Linked DNA regions of Homo sapiens: regions 1, 3 and 4 are each linked to region 2. Evidence: promoter capture Hi-C in 16 types of primary human blood cells and fetal thymus (Javierre and others, 2016). All regions are on one chromosome and are shown on one strand. Each heading gives the region's core, a stretch centred on a gene start or on the middle of the fragment in contact. The rest is flanking DNA. Distances are from core to core; before and after follow the strand shown. Region 1 has its middle 14 kb from the start of OR6A2. Region 2 holds the start of CYB5R2 (cytochrome b5 reductase 2). Region 3 has its middle 68 kb from the start of RBMXL2. Region 4 holds the start of OR2AG2 (olfactory receptor family 2 subfamily AG member 2).

Region 1 (2,737 bases), core at 58-2,557, 860 kb before region 2:
AGCTGACTCATTATCTTCTGTGGTGCTGGGAGTGGGGAGGTCTCAGGGAGCTTTTCCCATACCCTAGAACTATGCCCTTCTGTCAGCAGGTTTATTTGGTGGTGCAGTTCAGTCTATAGTCCAGTAGATGGCGATAAGGAGTAAGAGCGGGCTCATCTCTGATGACAAATGGAAGCACCTGCTTTGACAGAGGCGGTGGAAGGAGCTCATGGTGGGATGGGCTGATGTCTTCAACGTGAGGGGTGCCACGGTGGGACCTCACCACCTCCTTATCCTGGGCAGCCAGGAACACAACCTACATGTCTATTACATCCCTGTCACCAGGCTTGCTACTTTCAGTTCAGATAGACACTGACCCTTTTCTCCAGGTCTCAATGAAACTAGGGCCCGTGGAAAATGCCCATCTGCAGGTACCACTGAGATAGCCTTGAGGCTGAACCTCTTTTTCTGGTTTAAGACAGGTAACTCTGTGGCTGGTCTGCATTCCATTGCAGGAACACAGCAGCTCTGTGTAGGGAGGGGGAGATGTGCTCCACCTTTATGCAATTCCAGGAGGCAGGTACACTTTCAGTGGGGGTGTAACCACCTGGAATCATGCTGGAAAGCCTCACTCTAAGTGCACTTATGCCAATTCACAGTGGGAAAAACCTTGGCTCTGTCCACAACAGTAGACTGGGGGAGTGGGAGAAGATTCCCCTCATCCATTTCCAGCCACTGGTGTTGCCTGTCTGCTTGGGCAGAACAACACTTTTCCCCTTCAGAGACAACCACTGCACCCATCACTCTTCTGGGAGGGGCACAGTCACCCACTGGACACAAGTAGGGGGCTCTCAGGCAGGAGAGAGCTTTCTATTTGGTTTCCTTTGTTCTAAAGGGTGTTTTGGTGGGCTGCACTGTGCCTTCTCCCAGCAGCAGCCCATGCTGTGAACTGGATATCCAAGGATCTTGCAACTCCCAAGGATCCCACTGTTCCCCTGTGTTCGCTGCACTTAGAGCAGCATCTGGAAAATGTTTGTTGGGGATCTAGTGGTATGAAGAAACAAAGACTGAAATTCTCTGGGCAGGATAGTAGCCCACAATCAGTGTACAACCAACACGGTGCCTACCATTTCAACTTGGGTTCAAGGGGAGTGTGTGTGAACCTGCACAAACTGGCTACTAAGTGCTGGACCCCCAGGGAGTTTCCAAATTCCTCCTGACCGCAGTGCCTGGGCTTACAAGAGCAGAGAGGCTCTTCAACAATTTGGTCCTCAGCAGCCTGTCACAAGGGTAAGGAGAACAAAGAAACTCCCACCTACACTTTCTGTGGGATTGCAAGTTCCTCAGGAGTCAATCTCTGCCAGAGTCTTGCTGCCTTCCTTTTCTGCACCTGAGCTTCTTCCTGTGGCTTCTCTGACTGGTTTTGCATTCTTCCTCAGCATTCCACTCCAGCCATGATCACTCATCTGTAACTTTGTCTCTTCTTTCTGTAGAGAACTCACATCTGACATCCCTAGTTAGCCATCCACAGTGGATGCCTTTTGTTGGAACACAGATAATTCATAGTCTGTGCCCATTCAAAAAGTTCACCTAGCGTACCTCTTTCCCAGACTTCTTTATCACCAACATTCAAATCCTGTTCTTTCCAAGTCCCTTATCATCCAGCCAAACCACTGCCAACTGCTGATGAATTTGTGTAGGTCCACACTTTTGACCAAAATAACAAACTTCTGAGGCATGAAACAACATGGGTGAAACCTAAAAGCATTATGCTAAGTGAAAGAAGCCAGACACGATAGATTACCTAATGTGTGATTCCATTTACATGCAATTCAAGGAAAGGTAAAATTATAGTGATAGAAAGCAAGTTATTGTTTGCCAGTGTCCAGGGGGCACAGCTAGAGGACTCATTGCAAAAGGGATGAGAGAAATTTTGGGGGTGATAAAAACGTTTTGATTTTGGTCAGGCACGGGGGCTCATGCCTGTAATCCCAGCACTTTGGGAGGCTGAGGTGGGTGGATCACAAGGTCAGGAGTTCGAGACCAGCCTGGCCAACATGGTGAAACCCCATCTCTACTAAAAAAATACAAAAATTAGCCGGGCATTGTAGTGTGTGCCTGTAATCCCAGCTACTCGGGAGGCTGAGTGGGGAGAATTGCCTGAATCTGGGAGGCGGAGGTTGCAGTGAGCCGAGCCACTCGACTCAAGCCTGGGCGACAGAGTAAGACCCTGTCTCAAAAAAAAAGGTTTCGATTTTAAATTATTATTATTATTTGAGATGGACTCTCACTCTGTCACCCAGGCTGGAGTGCAATGGCACGATCTTGGCTCACTGCAACCTCCGCCTCCCAGGTTCAAGTGATTCTCCTGCCTCAGCCTCCTGAGTAGCTGGGATTACAGGGGTGCGCCACCACACCTGGCTAATTTTTTTTTGTATTTTTAGTAGAGGTGGGGTTTCACCATGTTGGTCAGGCTGGTCTCAGACTCCTGACCTCATGATCCACCTGCCTTGGCCTCCCAAAGTGCTGGGATTACAGGCATGAGCCACCGTGCCTGGCTGGTTTTAAATTATTTTTAAAACTAAAATAAAAATTGTATATATTTATGGTATACAACATGATGTCTTGACATATGTATACATTATGAAATGATTAAACCAGACTAATTAACATATCCATCACTTTATATACTTATTATTTTCTTGTGATGAGAACATTTAAAATTTACTTTCAGCAATGTTTAAGTATACAATACATT
Region 2 (3,002 bases), core at 94-2,593:
TAAGTTCCCCAGCAAGGAGCCTTCCATGAGATTTTAGGCCTTTTGGCTCTAGGTTCAGTTCTTTTCAATGCTCACTGAGGTACCACTCTCGTGTCAGCCCAATTGGAATAATGAAGAAAAGAAATTTTCTGTCCCACATCCATCCCCCTATCTATCTCCCTGAGCTCACAGGCTCAGGAGGAGCAAGAGGGCATCTTCCACACCTCAGGACGTGGGAAACCTGTGTTTCTGTTAAGAGAGGAGGGCCTAGCCCCCAGAGGCCCCAGTCCTGGTGATGACCCAAGCCCGGCTCACCTACAGGAAGCCCTAAGACATGGTCCGGCGAAGGCAGTCCAAAGCGGAACCTCCGGGTGTTGTGGCTGATTTTCTGATAAAACAAAACATAGGCAGGTTCTGTCAGCTTTCTAGAAGCCTTGCTGGGCAGCTGAGATGCCTGGGAAAGGAGGTCCGTTTGGCGCTATTCCAGCACACACACACACACACACAGGGCGGCGGGGAGTGAACTGGAGGCCATGAGATGACTGTCTGGATGCCCTGCCATCCCAGCCATCATCCACTTACTGCCTTCCACCCACAGGGCTGACCCATTACCTCTTTCTCAATCAAGGGCAGCGGGTACTTGGCTTCAGGGTCCTGTAAGGTGATTGGCTCTCTCCTCCTGGAGTTCATGCTCTTCAGGACCAACACGAGCACAGTGACCCCAGTGACGGTGATGGTCAGGAGCAGGGACGGGTCCTGGCAGACACAATGTGAACAGAGCACCTCAGGTCTTGCCCGCCCTGGACAGGGCAGCTCTCAGGCGCAGAACACCCTCCCCACACCAAAGGCACAGGAGCTGAGCTCTGCCTGCAGGAAATAGGCAAAGAGAACAGTAGTGACACAGAAGGCGGCTGGGAGAGCCTGTCGTGGACCAGAGGGTAGGGAGGGGTCAGCTGCAGGTCACACAGGAAGGATGTTTCAGGCCCCTGGAGCAGGCAGCACACATGGCCTGGGGTGCTCAGGTCACTAGGCCCCTCCTGGCTACAGCCAAAGGTTCATACACTGGAAGTCCCTTCCTTGAGGTGAAGGGGGAGGACATCACCCCTAACACACAATCCGGAATGAGGGGCCCAGTCCCTAAAGACAGAACTAGGGTGCGTAGCTCTAAGAGGTGCCCCGTGACTTAGGGCCTGGGGACTCCCCAACAGTCTCCTGGACAGGGCGAAGGGGGCCTGGGCACTCAACTGCCAGAGACTCGGGAGCCTCCCCGCATCTGTCCCTACCCTACAAGGCCGCCCTGCTCCTCTCCCAACTCAAGCCCGACAGGGAAAGTTGCCTCTCCTCCCGCCGGGTCACTGGAGTCTCAGCCTTCCGGAATCCGAGCCGGCCCGCCCCACTCCCCGCCCTTCGCGGTCCCGCCCACGACCTCTCCCCACGCCTCCCGCTCCGGCCCCCAACCTCCCGGTCGGACGTTCGTTCCCGGCTCTAGCCGGCCTCCGCGCCTCTGGCCTCTTTCCTTCCGGCCGTCCCGACGGAGATATTTCTTCAATACTCCATAAATACACCCCGCCGCGGAACCCACCCGGAGTGAGACGCCCAACACGTCGTCGAACTGGGGTTGGCCGGGGGCCGCTCCCCGCCGCGGGCCCGCAGACTCGTGGCGTCGCCCCGCAGCTCCGCCTGGCCGACGGGGAACCGGCCGAGACCCGGACACGCACGCCCGGGAGGACAAAAGCGCGGGCGGACCCCGCAGGCTGGGACCCCGGCGGCTGGCCCGCTCCCCGAGAAGGGCCGTGGTCGGGGGGCTCTCACTCACGAGCCGCTGGCTCTGGGTCAGCCCTGCCCCCAGGGCAGCGCTCCATCATGAGGCTGGCGGGGCGCTGAGCCGTGGCGTCCTCGCTCCTGCGCTGCCCCTCTGCATCCTGGCCCCTTCCCTGCACACGCAGAGCTGCCACACTGAGCGCCCCTCAGCTTACTTAAGCTCGGCAAGGCTGGAGAAGGCCGTCTGGGTGACCGGGCGGAGGGGGATGCTGGGGAAGGAAGAATTCAGGCAGCTGCAAAGAGCGCGCGAATATATTCATTCGACATACCTCATGGGCGCCTACCCTGGGCCTGGTCCGGGGCGGGTGTTTGCGGGGTGGGGCCGAAGCAGGGGCGTCGCCGAGTTGAAGACGTGTACTCCGAGCGCTCCTGCGTTCATTCATTCGCTGGGTGGAGAGAGGAAGGACAAGAGCCCCGCGCCGATCGGAGGGGAGCAGAATAGTAGGCACAGTTAGAGGGTCTTCACGGTGCGTTTCGGAACCTTGGCTGCCCGGCTCGCCCTTGATTACAGGCAAAGGCAAATTCTTGCCTCAGGACCTGTGTGAAACAGAGAAGCCCAGAAGCAGATCCCCACCTGTTTGACTCTGCTAGGGCTGCTGTAACAAAGTGCCGCAGACTGAGCGGCTTAAACAACAAAAATTTATTGTCTCGCAGGTCTGGGGGCTGGAAGTCCAAAATCAAGGTGTGGGCAGAGTGGGTTCCTTCTGAGGGCTGTGAGGGAAGGATCTGTTCCATGCCTCTCCTAGGTTTGTAGGAGAGGGGCTAGGAGAAGGGGCATCTTCTTCCTATGTCTCCACATTTTCATCCCTCTGTGTGTGTCCCTGTGTCCAAATTTCCCCTTTTATGAAGACACCAGTCATATTCAATTAGGGTCCATCCTAATGACCTTGTTTTAACTTGATTACCTATGTAAAGGCTCTACCTTCAAATAAGGTCATATCCTTAGGTACTGGGGCTTAGGGCTTCAACATAAGAATCAGGGTGAAAACAATAACCCATAACACTTTACCAACCCTTCTCCCCAAGACACACACCACCACAGGCTCAAAAATTCTTGCTGTGTGAATGAATAAACAAACTTAATTTTCTCTCTTTGACTTAATCAAATGCCTTTACTTTTGATTTACCTGCAGGTGCTTGGTTATTATAGGCAGATATTTTAATTTTTGACAATGCGATAAGTGTAAAATGATGTATCAGGA
Region 3 (2,936 bases), core at 217-2,716, 520 kb before region 2:
CCAAGCAGGAACTTATGCCCTCACAGAGGTATCAGATAGGGCCTTCTGCCTCTTGTCCATCTTTCGTTGGCTTGCTCCCACGGGAGAAGAAGTGATGGATCTAATAGACCAGATGGAGAAAATAATCTACTAGTCTAGTTTCTCAGCACTTGTCAAACTGTAATGTGTATAAGAGTCAGCTGGAGGATCTTCAAGTGCAGACTCTGACCCAGTGGGTCTTGTCTGGGGTCTAAGATTCTGCATTTTGATTAAGCTCCCAGATAATGCTGAGGTGGCCACTCTGTGGATCATACTCTCAGTAACAAGACTCAATGGGGGTGCGAGTCGACTTCAGTTCTCCATGCTAAGTGCTTTCTCAGAAGCTCCAACTCTCCTCACCTGTAGGGCCCAACATATGAGCTACGGAGCAAGTGTTAGGGAGTGCATTTTTATAGCAAATCCAAGCCAGAGACACCAATCCAGATTTATCAGATTGAAGCTGATATTTTGATTTCTATTTGACACTTGTCTGATCCCCAGTTGGTCTAGAAGTCAGGAGAGAGAGGCTTGGTATTATCATTTCTATTTTACAGATGGTGGCTTAATGGCAAGCTGAACAACTGGGCTAAAGCCAATTGGGAGAAAGTGCAGACTGGGATTTGAAGCAGATCAGTCTGGCCCTTTTACCTGTTGTTTTATACTGTCTCCAGTTAAAATATCCTGTCCCACATAATCTGTCCTCCCCACAATACGATCCTGTCTTTCTTTGTATACTGTAGTCACTATATCCTGCTTCATATCCTCAACACCTGTCCTAGCTTCCTTGTCCCTTTTTACTACTTGGCCACCTTCTCATCTATCAACATGAAATCAAGGTCTGTTGCCTTTATGAAGCTTTTCTTCAATGCTTCAGCATGAACTAGGCCTTTCCTATGTGGCTCCTGGTTTACTGTGTGCAGAATTTCGTATGTTCTTTTGCCATAATTATTGTATTTATTTGTTACTTGACAATTTCCTCTTTCTATCTTTTGAAAGATAGGAATCATGCCTGATTTATCTTTTCTCCCCAGCACTCTGCTCAGGGTGTGTATGTTATTAAGTGCTAAATATATACTGAATGAATACTTAATACTTAGGTTGGAACTTAGTGGCTTAATATTTCTGTGCTCAATCTTCCTTTTTCTGTCTCCTTTTCACTCCTGTGAAGTTTGTTTGAAGTGCCTGTTTCCTTCTCCACTGTATGAGCAGAAATAGAGAGAGCAGGATCAACATATTATTATGTTAGAAACCCACTCATCACGTGATGAGGAACTTGCACAAACTTGTGGTAAAATAAAAGTTGGATAATATTTTTTTTGAGATCGAGTCTGGCTCTGTGGCCCCGGCTGGAGTGCAGTGGTGCGATCTCAGCTAACTGCAGCCTCCACCTCCCAGGCTCAAGTGATTTTCCTGCATCAGCCTCCTGAGTAGGTGGACTACAGGTACGCATCACCAAGCCCAGCTAATTTTTGTATTTTTAGTAGAGACAGGGTTTCACCGTGTTGGCCAGGCTGGTCTCAAACTCCTGACCTCGTGATCTGCCCACCTCGGCCTCCCAAAGAGTTGGGATTACAGGCATGAGCCACCGCACCCGGCCATAATAAAATATTTTTATATCCTGAGAAGTGCGTAATCAAACATTTAACTCAAAGGTAAGAAGAACCAGCTTTTTTTTTTTTTTATTAATTAGTGTATGGTCTTAAGCTAGTTACCTAAATTATCTGAGCTTTACTTTTCTTATCTGTAAATTGGTGGCTTGGACATCTATATCACAGTATTATCAAAAGATTAGATAAAACAATACATCTTGAAGAGCAGCAGGGCTCCAAAACTGCCAGTCTCCTTGCTTGCTCTTATTCATTCAGCTACCGTGATCTTTAGGCTCTCATCATACTTGCCTCTTTTTTACTTTCTGTCTCTCCCATTTCCATACATTTTACATCTGCTCCCATGTTTCACTCTCCACATGTAATATTCATCCCAATGCTCTTCTGCTCTAAAATCCTATCACCAAGAAGATAAAATCCAAAGAGCCTTATACCAAGCTTCTCCTGTAATCTTCCCGCATATCCTGACACCAGTTCCTGCTCTGGGCAAAGTGGGCAGCCACTCTTTTTGAAAATAAAAATTTTTTTTTTGTCCCTGGGATATTTCTCACATGTTCCATCTACTAATGGAATGACCGGCTAGTTATGAATTCATATGCCCAATTATTTAAGAATCCAAATCCCCTCCTCAAAACATAATGCAAGTCTTAATGCAAATACCAGATTCAACGTGTGCTTGCTTATCTGACCTGTGTGTCCCATTTATATAGTAATTAGTTTTTGCATTTTCCTGTTGGAATAGTACTTTTTCTGTTGTTTGAAAACACCCTTTAAATTTTGTCTCACCATTTTTTTCTCTCCTACCGGATGGCACCAGGCACTATGGGTTACTCAAGAACAGGGACTATGTCTTGTATTCCACATAGATTTGTATTCTGATCACTGCCTAACATGCAACTGATATTTATTCACTCCATATTGAGCAGTTTACACTGTGCCAGTCACTCAGTACATTAAAATCAGTATCAAGAGGAGGCTCATGAAGATTCCTCAATCTAGTTATGGAGATAGACAATACACAGGTGGAATGCACTGAATTAGTGGATAAAAATGGCCATGGATTCTTTGCAACTGTTTTCATCGAAAGGTGAAGTCTATTCTCTTGTCTCTTGAAGCTGGCTGCTCTTGTGATGTGATTTTTCAATGGAATGTAGCAGAAGCCACATTGTATAACTGTTTGCAGCATCTTCTCTCATCCCTTGGGACACTTCAACCATGAAAACAAGTCAACGCCAGCCTCGCTGAAGATGATAGACCATATGGAGTGGGGGCAGCCCAGCCTTCCCAGCTATCTCTCTCTAGATGAGTAAA
Region 4 (2,904 bases), core at 302-2,801, 900 kb before region 2:
TACCGTGAAAGTCAGAACCTTAAAATACAGTACATGAATGTCCTCCTTGCACTTTTGCCCAGTGAAGTCTGGACAAGAAACCCCCAGAAAAATACCCTGTATAAAACTGTGTTTCACCACGCAATGTAGTCTAAGAATTTTCTCCTGCCTTACAAAATCAAAACTATAATTTTAACCTAGGAACCACTGACCCACTGACCGGAAAACCTTATTTGTCTGTTGACAACAAAAACACAAGTCCAAAGTCAATTCTAAGCACTATTTCTGCTAAATATTAGATTTGAAATGCCTTCATTTTTCTTGAATAAAAAGATGAATGGACAGGTAAATAAAAGGAGGAACATAATTAGCTGGGCACATTCTTCTAGCTTCCTGCACCAGATGTTTGGACAGGATTTCAAAGAGAAGAAAAATCAGGGCTTGGGTAAGGTGGTGTAACCAGGACTCAGGATCCTACATACCTACCTCCTCCCTCTGATACGGGACTATTGTTTTCCCTTCTTTCCATTTACTGAGTTCTCTCTGGGGTCATCTAAAGGGAAAGGCCAGAGAACACACACTGGGCCTACAGAGGAAGAGCTTCATTCTGGAAAACTGCTGGTGGTTGCGGGTATTTCAAACCAAGAGAAGTCAGCAGAGGCTGATATTAAGAGGCATTGCTATAGTTTATGGAAAATGGTCAGTCAATTAACAAGGTAGAGCTAAATTTTTGGAAGTATATTTTATAAGTTTTTCTTTTTCATCTCTGCTCAGTATATTTATTTTTTGTATTTACTTCATTTGGCTTTTTGTGTGGCACTGGACTTAGCGCCAAGCAGTCCTGCAGGGGAAAGGCACTTCAGCATATTTTAGATAGTCCTCCTTTGAGGTACTATTCATTTGGGGACTCACATCAAACTACTGGAGGCCAGGAAAATCTAGATGTAACAAAGGTAAGTACTGAGACTTTTACCAGGAGGCCATCATCAGGAATTCTAGGAACTCACGGCTGGCCAATGGCATAGAATTATTTTGGTTGTTCCTACATGTGCAAGATGGGTACATGTACAAGGTTGATAAGATATAGATGGGAGTGAGTGAATCATAAAGCCTGAGGAACTAGAGAATCTGAGAAGGAGAGCAGTGTAAGGTCTTGACCCTGTTTCTCAGGACTTCCAGACTTCCCATATTGCCTTGAAACGGAGACAGAGCCCTTACCTCATATGGGAAGGGGCATAGCTTCCAGGTAAAGAGGTTCAAGAAGCCAAAGAAAGAAAAGTTGCTTCTTCTGGCCAGGATGAATGTAGGTGTGTGTATGGCTGTCTCTAGGATCAGAGATCAAAGGCTCCTCCAGTCACTGGCACTGCAAGTCCTCTCTGGAAGTAGAGATAGATGCAGACAGGCAGCTGAGAACCTAGGGCAGGATCCTGCAGAAGTGAGGAGCTGAATCTCTTCCAAAGTTCTCTCATTCACTGTCCTTGCGAGAAAGTCCTTACTGCTTTGGAATGGTTCTAGCTGAGTTCTTAAGTCCAGGTCCTCAGATTTCATATATTCCCCTCATGCTGTGTTTCATGATAAAAGAGGAGCACAGCAGGAATGTGAGAAAAGAGGTATAAGAAGAGCTGCTTAAAAGAGACCCACCAATGCCCAGCCTTACTGTCTCTGCGCCAACAGTGAGGCCTGTCCTGGGGGAGGGTTCATAGTCTCACCCTCTCAGCTGACATGACCTCCCCTGAAAATATTGCTCCAGGAAATGGGATTTTAATAAATCCCCTTGGGCATGTCTCCTGGCCTGCCATTTCTTCAAACTTTACCACCAAATGAGCTCTGAACCTTGAGGCCTTGTTCTGCCCGCCATGGGCTTGCTGTGTCTCACCACTCATTGGAGTCTAAGATCTTTCTCCTGCCTTACAAAACCAAAACTATAATTTTAACCTAGAAATCACTGACCGGAAAACCAGACAGAGGCTGTTTCTGACAAAATAGATAGTGTCAGTAACCAATCTGAAAAGCAACACCTCCCTGTCCAGCCCTCTGTCCAAAATATAAAGTCTGTCTCATGGGTTCTATAGATGCTGCCACTCACATATCCCTCTTTGTGCCACTAGCCTGGGCTATTACCAACTAGAGGGAGTTAACTATGCTTCTGTTAATATCAGGTCTTCCTTCACTGAGCTTTAATGAGGATCCAGCACTAATTTATTTTTCAGTTCTTTGTTTCTCCTTTCTACTCCCTCTTGTGTGTGTTCATTTGTTCATGGGCCTACATATTCTGTGATCAGTCAGCTGAGCTGCTCAGAGCTTTGGGATGATGACACAGCACCTGCTTGCACTCACTTCTGCTTTTAGTTCAGGCTTTCCCATCTCTCACCCAATTCTGTGCTTAATCTTCCTCATTCTTTAGTATCTCTTTAATCAGCCATTTCACCAGGAAATGCTGAAAATTTCTTCCGGAGTTATCATATCTTTTCTCTTTGAACTTAAAAAAAATAAAAATAAGTTTCCACTTTCTGTTTATATAAAATATATACTCAAAATTATTTCAGAAGTGCAACAGAAGAACTAATATAAAAATCTTTTTATTTTTTAATTATAAAAGGAATGTACTGAAAAGACGGTTTTAAACATGTAAATTATAAGAGCAGCATTATTCACAGTACAATAAAAATTAGAAACGACCTTTATGCCCATCAACAGTGGAATAGATAGATATGCACCAAAGGGTTACTATGTAGGAATCTAAACAAAGGAACCAGAGCATACAACAAAAAAAGCAACTTAGGAAACTAATATTAAGGGAAGCAAGAGACACCTTAGGATTATATATCGTGGTACTTCTTTTGCAGTGTTAAGAACTTAAGTGAAAATAAACTTCCTATAAATATGTGTACATTCAATAAAACTACATATAAATGAAGAAAGAAA

The links. Contacts are between HindIII fragments. The CHiCAGO score rates a contact against its expected background, and 5 or more counts as called.
Region 1: a fragment that was not itself captured here is called in contact with the fragment with the promoter of CYB5R2 in region 2 in 1 of 17 cell types (neutrophils); the score reaches 5.1 in neutrophils.
Region 3: a contact is called between a fragment that was not itself captured here and the fragment with the promoter of CYB5R2 in region 2, in 1 of 17 cell types (total B cells). The highest score is 6.0, in total B cells.
Region 4: the fragment with the promoter of OR2AG2 here is called in contact with the fragment with the promoter of CYB5R2 in region 2 in 1 of 17 cell types (M1 macrophages); the score reaches 5.3 in M1 macrophages.

Annotation. Positions count from the first base shown.
Region 1 is chr11:6,812,460-6,815,196 of GRCh38, forward strand. No RefSeq gene overlaps it. Among named protein-coding and RNA genes, the nearest start is that of OR6A2, 14 kb to the left of the region's middle. The HindIII fragment of the contact is 3,399 bases long and covers 1-2,737 here.
Region 2 is chr11:7,672,157-7,675,158 of GRCh38, forward strand. CYB5R2 (cytochrome b5 reductase 2) reads right to left here and starts at 1,344. Exons shown (of 9, transcript NM_016229.5): 1 at 1,263-1,344; 2 at 592-735; 3 at 295-367. The coding sequence starts at 669. RefSeq lists enhancers at 957-1,006, 1,027-1,126 and a silencer at 1,647-1,856. The HindIII fragment of the contact is 8,029 bases long and covers 1-3,002 here.
Region 3 is chr11:7,155,993-7,158,928 of GRCh38, forward strand. No RefSeq gene overlaps it. Among named protein-coding and RNA genes, the nearest start is that of RBMXL2, 68 kb to the left of the region's middle. The HindIII fragment of the contact is 1,190 bases long and covers 872-2,061 here.
Region 4 is chr11:6,770,425-6,773,328 of GRCh38, forward strand. It overlaps OR2AG2 (olfactory receptor family 2 subfamily AG member 2), which reads right to left and starts at 1,552. Exons shown (of 2, transcript NM_001004490.2): 1 at 1,198-1,552. The HindIII fragment of the contact is 9,473 bases long and covers 1-2,904 here.